Regions from separate parts of the Homo sapiens genome. Here all the other regions are linked to region 2. Evidence: promoter capture Hi-C in 16 types of primary human blood cells and fetal thymus (Javierre and others, 2016). All regions are on one chromosome and are shown on one strand. The core of a region is centred on a gene start or on the middle of the fragment in contact, and the rest is flanking DNA. Distances in the headings are between cores, read along the strand shown.

The links. Contacts are between HindIII fragments. The CHiCAGO score rates a contact against its expected background, and 5 or more counts as called.
Region 1: a contact is called between a fragment that was not itself captured here and the fragment with the promoter of FOXI1 in region 2, in 9 of 17 cell types (naive CD8 T cells, monocytes, non-activated CD4 T cells and 6 more). The highest score is 8.6, in naive CD8 T cells.
Region 3: a contact is called between a fragment that was not itself captured here and the fragment with the promoter of FOXI1 in region 2, in 1 of 17 cell types (total CD8 T cells). The highest score is 5.7, in total CD8 T cells.

What each region holds. Positions count from the first base shown.
Region 1 is chr5:170,405,117-170,407,816 of GRCh38, forward strand. The region is part of intron 1 of KCNIP1-OT1 (KCNIP1 overlapping transcript 1); the gene reads left to right. It also overlaps a transcript of KCNIP1 not described here. Among named protein-coding and RNA genes, the nearest start is that of KCNIP1-OT1, 17 kb to the left of the region's middle. The HindIII fragment of the contact is 478 bases long and covers 1,022-1,499 here.
Region 2 is chr5:170,104,638-170,107,337 of GRCh38, forward strand. FOXI1 (forkhead box I1) reads left to right here and starts at 1,260. Exons shown (of 2, transcript NM_012188.5): 1 at 1,260-1,894. The coding sequence starts at 1,321. The HindIII fragment of the contact is 5,348 bases long and covers 1-2,700 here.
Region 3 is chr5:170,453,583-170,456,282 of GRCh38, forward strand. It overlaps a transcript of KCNIP1 not described here. Among named protein-coding and RNA genes, the nearest start is that of KCNIP1, 49 kb to the right of the region's middle. The HindIII fragment of the contact is 1,433 bases long and covers 555-1,987 here.

The DNA.
Region 1 (2,700 bases), core at 11-2,510, 300 kb after region 2:
TGGATTAAATAATACATATGCCAAATTGCCCTGCAAAATTATGCTGCTTTACCTCCAGCCACAGAGAGAAAAGGGATTTTCTTTTCTTTTTTTTTTGAGATGAAGTCTTGCTCTGTTGCCCAGGGTGGAGTGCAGTGGTGCAATCTCGGCATACTGTAACCTCCGCCTCCAGGTATCAAGCGATTCTCCTACCTCAGCCTCCCAAGTAGCTGGGACTGCAGGCACCACCACCATGCCCAGTTAATTATTAGTATATTTTAATTTTTTAGTAGAGACAGGGTTTCGCCAGGTTAGCCAGGCTGGTCTTGAATTCTTGACCTCAGGTGATCTGCTCACCTTGGCCTCCCAAAGTGCTGGGATTATCAGCCTGAGCCGTTGTGCCCAGCTGAGAAGAGGGATTCTCAGCAGCAGCCTGGACTCAGGCATCCTTGCAGGGCCTCCTGGCTTCTCTTGATTCATTTTGTTTTCCTGGTGCCTCATGCCAGGAAGCTGGAATGAAGCACAACTGGGCAGACCCTTCCTTGGGCAAAAGTATTAGTGTCTGTGGTCATTGTTCTCTGACAGTCAGTTCTGTGGTACATAACGATTGGTTCAGGCCCCTGTGATCTTCTTGTCCATGTGAGACTGGATGAGGAGTCTCCTGGACCAGTGATGGTAACACCTGCACCCTGAGCTGGGGAGCAGGTGGTATCACAGACGAGCTCCCATCCCAGGCTGGCTCTCACAGTCCCTTTCCACAGCTGTGTTACCAGCCCCTGCTCAATCATGTTTCCATGTGATTCTCATGGAAACCTTGTGTGATTGGCAACACCAAGATTTGTCCCACATCCAGATAGAGACTAGGGGCTAGAATACCTCTCCCCTGCCCGTTTCTCCGGGCTTGACATTTCAGCCAGACACCTCTTCCACTTCCTCAAAACTTATCTGTCTCCTCTTTTACTTCCTCAGTTCCTTGTTTGTCTAAAACACCAGCTAACTGATAATTGCATTTATAGTTACTATGTTTTCCTCCTAGATAACAAGCTTCATTGAAGATTTTCTAAAAATATTTGGCTCTAATATAAGGGAAATTGGGATCACCATGAGCAGTGAGTTGGTGGGAGAGAGATTGGGGGTACGTTTATGGAAAATCACGGATCCGTGGGTCTGGAAGTTAAAAGAGGACTGGCCCTTTGAGCAAATAAATGAAGAGTAAGCTGGAGAGCTTGTGTGTATAGCATTTGAGGGCAAGGGCTCTGGAGTTCAACACACTCAGCCTCAAATCACCTACCCATTATTGGTCGTGTAAATGTGGCCAAGTTACTTGACTGCTCTGTGCCTTGGTTTTTCCATCTCTAAAATGGACATAATAACCCATACAGGGTTATTATAAGGATTTTGACAAGAAATGGCAGGTAGCAATAATTACACCTACTGAATTTAAAAAGTGGCTCAGGCACAAGAGGTGAGTGGCCTGTTCAAGGCAGCATGGCCTGGAAGACCTTCAGCAGGGGCCAGTAAGCTTACTAGCCCTCATACCCAGGAAAGCGGTTTATTTCTCCTCCCACATCAGCATCCCTCTCTTCTTCCTATGTCGGCCCCAGAAGGTTCACACCCTCTCCCTCTTAGGCTCCTTCCTCATTCCGAGGCCTGGAGGGTCTTTGCACAGAGAGGAATCTGCTTCCTGCCTAGAGCTTGGAGAACCCCAGGCCTTCCGCATTCATGAGGTCCAAGGCCAGGCAGGAGGCAAGGCCATGGGCCCAAATCTGTGCCATGAGTGTCAACAGAAGATCCCAAAGCTGGAGACCCCAAATAAAAACCCCAAGAGATGTGGGGGCATCAGCTTCCTCAGACTCAACCCAGCACCATTCAGCAGCTTTCAAGACCAAGAAGTCCATACTGTTCTCTTGCTCGCAAGATACTCAGCCTATGAAATCCTCAGCTAATGGAGTCCTCAGAGCAGCATGGAGCCTTGGGGGTGATTTTGAGGAACTGACACTGGGAAACAGCCTAGGGTCTGTGGTGCGCATGGTGGGCAGCAGCCCTTGCCTGTCCACACCACGGACCAGCTAACCATAGACGAGTTAAGAGTGACAGCATGCTACTGCTAGCGGGGGAAGCTGCACGTGCCATGGTTAAGGACCCCAGGGCTGGGTCTGTGCCCCATCATGTTGCGTAACAAGAAAGACAAGGATTGCAGGTGCTTTCCCACAACTAAGGTGGGTGCAGCTGCTGGGAATGGGAGAAACATTTATAGATCTAAGGATGGGCAGGAATTTAGAAAGGTAAGGGTACTGTCTGCCTTGGCTGATACTTTTATTTCCTTCTATCCATAAGTGTAACAAAAAAATTTTTTTAAATGCTATGTAAAGATAGGGAGGTTTGAAATTTTTACCAACAATCCCAATCCTTGAACACAAAGACTATTATCATATTTGTGACTGTTGAATATTTTTTAAAGACATGTTAATACTACAGGGAACTGCATTTCTATAGAATGCACTTTGGAAAGCATTGCCCTACAGTATTTATAAATTTCAGAACACATTTTAGGATCTGCCTTGTGTTGTTTCTGTCATCATTTTACATTTGCTAGTCTTGACTTCCAACCACCCAACACGCTTCCTGAGGGCAGGGCAAACTTGGACATTATTGACAGAACAAGTGCCCAATCTGAAAATGTGTCACATTCCTGCTCAGGTTCCAAACATGTCATAGCGG
Region 2 (2,700 bases), core at 10-2,509:
GAAAGGTCTTTGGATCAGAGAGGAGCTGGGAGCCTGCTTGCCCTGCAGCTGGAAAGAAACTTGAATTGTTCAAGTTCTCTCACTTTTCCCTGAAGACTGATTCCCCATTTTCCCCTTTTGCTATTATTTTTAAGAGCCTTGCTGCTCTCCAGGCAAATTCTCAGGTTCTCTGCCCGTCTGCAGCATGTATGCATATGCGTGTGTGTGTGCGTGCGTGTGTGCGCGTGCGTGCGTGGGCGTGTGCGCGTGTGTGGGCGTGCGCGTGTGCGTGTGCGCGTGTGTGCGTGTGCGCGTACGCGTGTGTGCGTGTATGTGTGTGTTGGGGGAGGCTGCGGTGCCTATGACTGGTTGCCCCCTTGAACCCCACCAGAAGCCAGCCCAGGCCCCTCTGCGCCCTCTTCTGAGTCTCCAGGGCCGGTTCTCTCCTGGCAACTCCAGAAAGTGCCTCCTCACCTCAAAAGACCAAGAAACAGGGTTTCTGATAAAGTGTCCCACCCAGTCCCGGCTGGGGCAGTTGGTTAGAGAATGAGGGGACATTGGGGGGAAGAGGAGGGAGAATGAGGGGATGGGAAGAGAGGCGCAGAGAAAATGAGAGGTGGAGAGAAAGGGACAGAGTGAAAGAGAAGGAGAAAGGGGAGAAGCCGGGAAGACAATGAGAATGGAAGCGAGAGATGGAAGTGGAAAGAAGAACTGGAAGCCTAGAGACAGAGGGAGAGAGGGAGAGAGGGAGGGGGAGAGAGAGAGAGAGAGAGAGAGAACGGGAATGAGCAGCTGTGATGTGGCCAGATCAGTTCATAGAAAAGAAACACAGTTCAGAGCAGAAGGGAGGAAAGAAAATAAGAAGGAAAGAAACAGAGAATGAGATGCAGAGAGGAGAGGAGGGAGAGAGAGAAGGAAACCGAGGTGGGTAGAAAAATGTGACGAAAGGGAAGGACAGAAAAAAAAATGAGAGAAGTAAGACAGAATAAAGGAGAAAAAGAAGAAGGGAATCATGAGGATGGTGAGAAAAGACAGGAGAGAAAGCCGGGAGAGAGGATAGAGGGGCGTTCTCGCTGCGCTGCGTGTCAGCTCTGGTAAGCCGTCTAGCATGTCATTAGTGGGGACCTGAGGCGCCAGCGGGAAAGTCCCCTCCCCGTGGGCTGGAGGCTGAGGGAGGGCGGGCCCTGGGCTGGGATCCACAGGCAGGTGGCCGCCCCTGGGTGGGGCCGCCCGGCCAAGCCCTAGGGGTATAAGTGGGAGGCCGGGCCTGCTGAGCACCTGTCAGGGGCAGCTCCGGGGTGCAGGTGCCAGGCAGGTGGCTCCGGCCAGCCCAGCCCCAGCATGAGCTCCTTCGACCTGCCGGCGCCCTCCCCACCTCGCTGCAGCCCCCAGTTCCCCAGCATCGGCCAGGAGCCCCCCGAGATGAACCTCTACTATGAGAACTTCTTCCACCCACAGGGCGTGCCCAGCCCTCAGCGGCCCTCCTTCGAGGGGGGCGGCGAGTATGGGGCCACCCCCAACCCCTACCTCTGGTTCAACGGGCCCACCATGACCCCGCCACCCTACCTGCCCGGCCCCAACGCCAGCCCCTTCCTGCCCCAGGCCTATGGAGTGCAGAGGCCGCTGCTGCCCAGCGTGTCGGGGCTTGGGGGGAGCGACCTGGGCTGGCTGCCCATCCCCTCGCAGGAGGAGCTGATGAAGCTGGTGCGGCCACCCTATTCCTACTCGGCTCTCATCGCCATGGCCATCCACGGGGCACCCGACAAGCGCCTCACTCTCAGCCAGATCTACCAGTACGTGGCCGACAACTTCCCCTTCTACAACAAGAGCAAGGCCGGCTGGCAGAACTCCATCCGCCACAACCTGTCGCTCAACGACTGCTTCAAGAAGGTGCCCCGCGACGAGGACGACCCGGGTAAGGAGGCTTTGAGTGTGGGGGGTGTCCCCAAGGAAGACTCACTTCCTTCCTCCCCAAGACCCCATTCTAGAAAGTTCTGACTAGGGCTGTGCCCCCCAAGACTGGGGGATGCTACCAGGCAGGACAGAGGGGAGCTCAGCAGTGAAGGAGAGCATGGGCCTGGGGGAAGATTTGGGTTTCAGCCCTGGCTGTGCTCCTGCCCAGTCAGTGACCTCTGGCAGGTTAGACCTCAGAGCCTCAGTTCCCTCATCGGAAAACCAGGGATAGTGACAGCATCTGCTTTGCAGGCTGCAGTGGAGGTGATGAGATAATGTACACAAGGTTTTAGGTGTTATCAAGCGCTTAATCGCCTGCAGTAATTACGATTCATCTGCATCTCCAGCACCCAGCACATAGAAAGTCTTTGGTGAATGAATGACTGGACCAACCAAAGCCCAAGGGCATCCCAAGACTGCCAGGAAGAGGATCTGACCTGGGTTAAACAGCCACTAATGGCCCATTTTGCTGCCTGCCTTGTTTCTACTTAGGTAACCTCCTTTAACCCGAAGACACCCCTGCAGGGTAGCTCTTATGAAACCCATTCTACAGATTAGGAAAATAACACTCAGAGGTGACACAGAATGAAGTGATAGTGATGGAGCTTGAATTTGAACTCAGTTTTCTCTAACATCAGAAATTGTGAGCTTTTCCTTTTCAACGATGCATTTCTAAAACTCAGAGACCTGCAGAGAGGCATGTATTAAATACTCATGCATCCATTTCCCAGAATTAAAGTCCACTTTTGTTCCACCGCAGGAAGCCAA
Region 3 (2,700 bases), core at 21-2,520, 350 kb after region 2:
CCTTTATGTAATAACCTCCACTTGAAGGTAGATGAGATCTGTGACTTGCTTCTAACCAGTGGAATATGGCGGAGGTGGTGGGACGTTACTCCTGTGATTACATTACATCATGTGGCTCCTTTATGATGGAAGATTCATGCTAGAGATTCTCCTTGCTGACTTGACAAAGTATGTAACCATGATGAAGACTTCCACGTGGCAAGGAGCTGTGGGAAGCCCAGGTGCTGAGACTGGCATCCAGCAAACACCCAGCAAGAAACAGACGTCCTTGGTTCTACACATACAGGAAATGAATTCTGCCAACATCCTGAGTAAGGCTGGAACTAGATTCTCCCCAAGTTGAGCCTGACAAGTAAAATACAGACCAGCCAACACCTTGATTGCAGTCTTGTGAGACCTGGGGAAAAGGACACAGCTGAACCGTGTCCATTCTTCTGACCCACAGAAACTGTCACATCATAAAGGTATGTTAGTTGTTACACAGTTTAGAAAACTATTACAGCTGCTCAAGAAGGTTAGCTAGCTCCAGATTTCAATCCATTCACAGGAAAGCAAGCTTTATTCCTAGAAGAATAATTCATGCTTTGCAAAAAGAGGAAAACGTCCTGCAGTTTTAGAAGGTCTTTTCTTTCTCAACACACCCAAATTTCTTTAAAATCCTCAAGAAGTGCATTTGTTTTCATGGTTGACTCGAAGAAGTGAGTATAATTAACTCACAAAAGGTGGGAGGAAGGGACAAATTAAATTTTGGTATGCATACAGGTAGCTTCTTCCAAGTGATAATGAGCAATGTGAAACAAAGAGATTGGCATTAAATGTAATGAAGGACTAGAGGAGTGTACCTAAACCTGAAACAAATTCCAAGAAGTGGCCTTGACCTAAAATGTTTGCATCCTGCCAGAGACCCTTACTTATAAGTCAGGAGATACCTGATGCCCAGGAGAACTGGTTTTTGTACTCTGTCTTACACAGACTAAGAATTAAGAATGCAGGTGAGAAGTTTAGAAAACTTCCTGATGATCATATGAAAAGACATTAAACTTTACCTGGTAAAACTATGAAATGTTGCCTGTAGATTTCTAAGAAAAATGAGTAGGAAGTTGGAAATATTTCAGAATTAAGAATGTTTTTATATAATTAGAACTCTTTAAGCTATGTAATTCTGAAATCTGTGTGACAGACTTCTGTGTAAACATAAAGAACTAGTTATTTTTACAGATTATCTAGTCTGTGTATTCATTTGATGTTTCTATTACTTTTACCCTCACTACAAAGTTCAATGAAGGTTAAAAAAATATTGTTCTTAAAAAAAGAAGAGATAAACCTGGAGTAGCTATTTCAATGTTAGACAAAATGGATTTTAAAACAAAAATGTTAATACAGATAGAAAGGGACATTTTATAATAATAAAAGTATCAAAATATCAGGAAGATACCACAATTATAAACAAATATGCTCCTAAAAATAGAATCTCAAAATACATAAAACAAAAACTGACAAAGTTGAAGGGATAAATAAATAGGCAGCTCAGCAATATTTAGAAACTTCAATACCTCACTTTCAATAATGGATAGAACAACTAGACATAAGATCAACAAGAAAATAGAATATTTTAACAAAGCTATACACCAACTAGGCCTAATGGATATCTATAGAATAATCCACCCAACAACAGAAGTCTTCCTCCTCCTACTTCTCCTCCTCCTCCCCTTCCCCTTCCCCTTCCCCTTCTTCTTCTTCCTTCTTCTCTTTCTCCTTCTCCTTCTTCTTCTTCTTCAACAGGATCTTACTCTGTTGCCCAGGCTAGAGTGCAGTGGTGTGATCATGGCTCACTGCAGCCTCAACTTCCCAGGCTCAGGTGATACATGGGCCTCAGCTTCCCAAAGTGCTGGGATTATAGGCACAAGCCACATGCCTGGCCCACATATTCTTCTTAAGTACACATCAAACATTCTGTAGAATAGACCATATGCTAGGCCACAAAACAAGCTTCGATAATTTAAAAGGACTGAAATTATACACAATCTGTTCCTTGGCCACAAAGAATAAAATTAGAAAGAACTTTTGGAAACTCACAACTATATAGAAATTAACATACCCATAAGTAACCAATTGGTTGAAGAAGAAATCACAAAATAAATGAGAAAATACTTTGAGATGAATGAAAATTAAGACACAACATATAAAAATTTATGCAATATAGCTAAAGCAATGCTTAGAGGGAAATTTATAGCTCCACATACCTACATTAAAAATGGAGAAAGTTACACTGTTGGTGGGACTGTAAATTAGTTCAACCACTGTGGAAGACAATATGGCGATTCCTCAAGGATCTAGAACCAGAAATACCATTTGACCCAGCAATCCCATTACTGGGTATACACCCAAAGGATTATAAATCATTCTACTATAAAGACACATGCATACATATATTTATTGAGGCACTATTTCCAATGGCAAAGACTTGGAACCAACCCAAATGCCCATCAATGATAGACTGGACAAAGAAAATGTGGCACATATACACCATGGAATACTATGCAGCCATAAAAAAGAATGAGTTTATGTCCTTTGCAGGGACATAGATGAAGCTGGAAGCCATCATTCTCAGCAAACTGACACAGGAACAGATAAACAAACACCACATATTCTCACTCATAAGTGGGAGTTGAACAATGAGTACACATGGACACAGGGAGG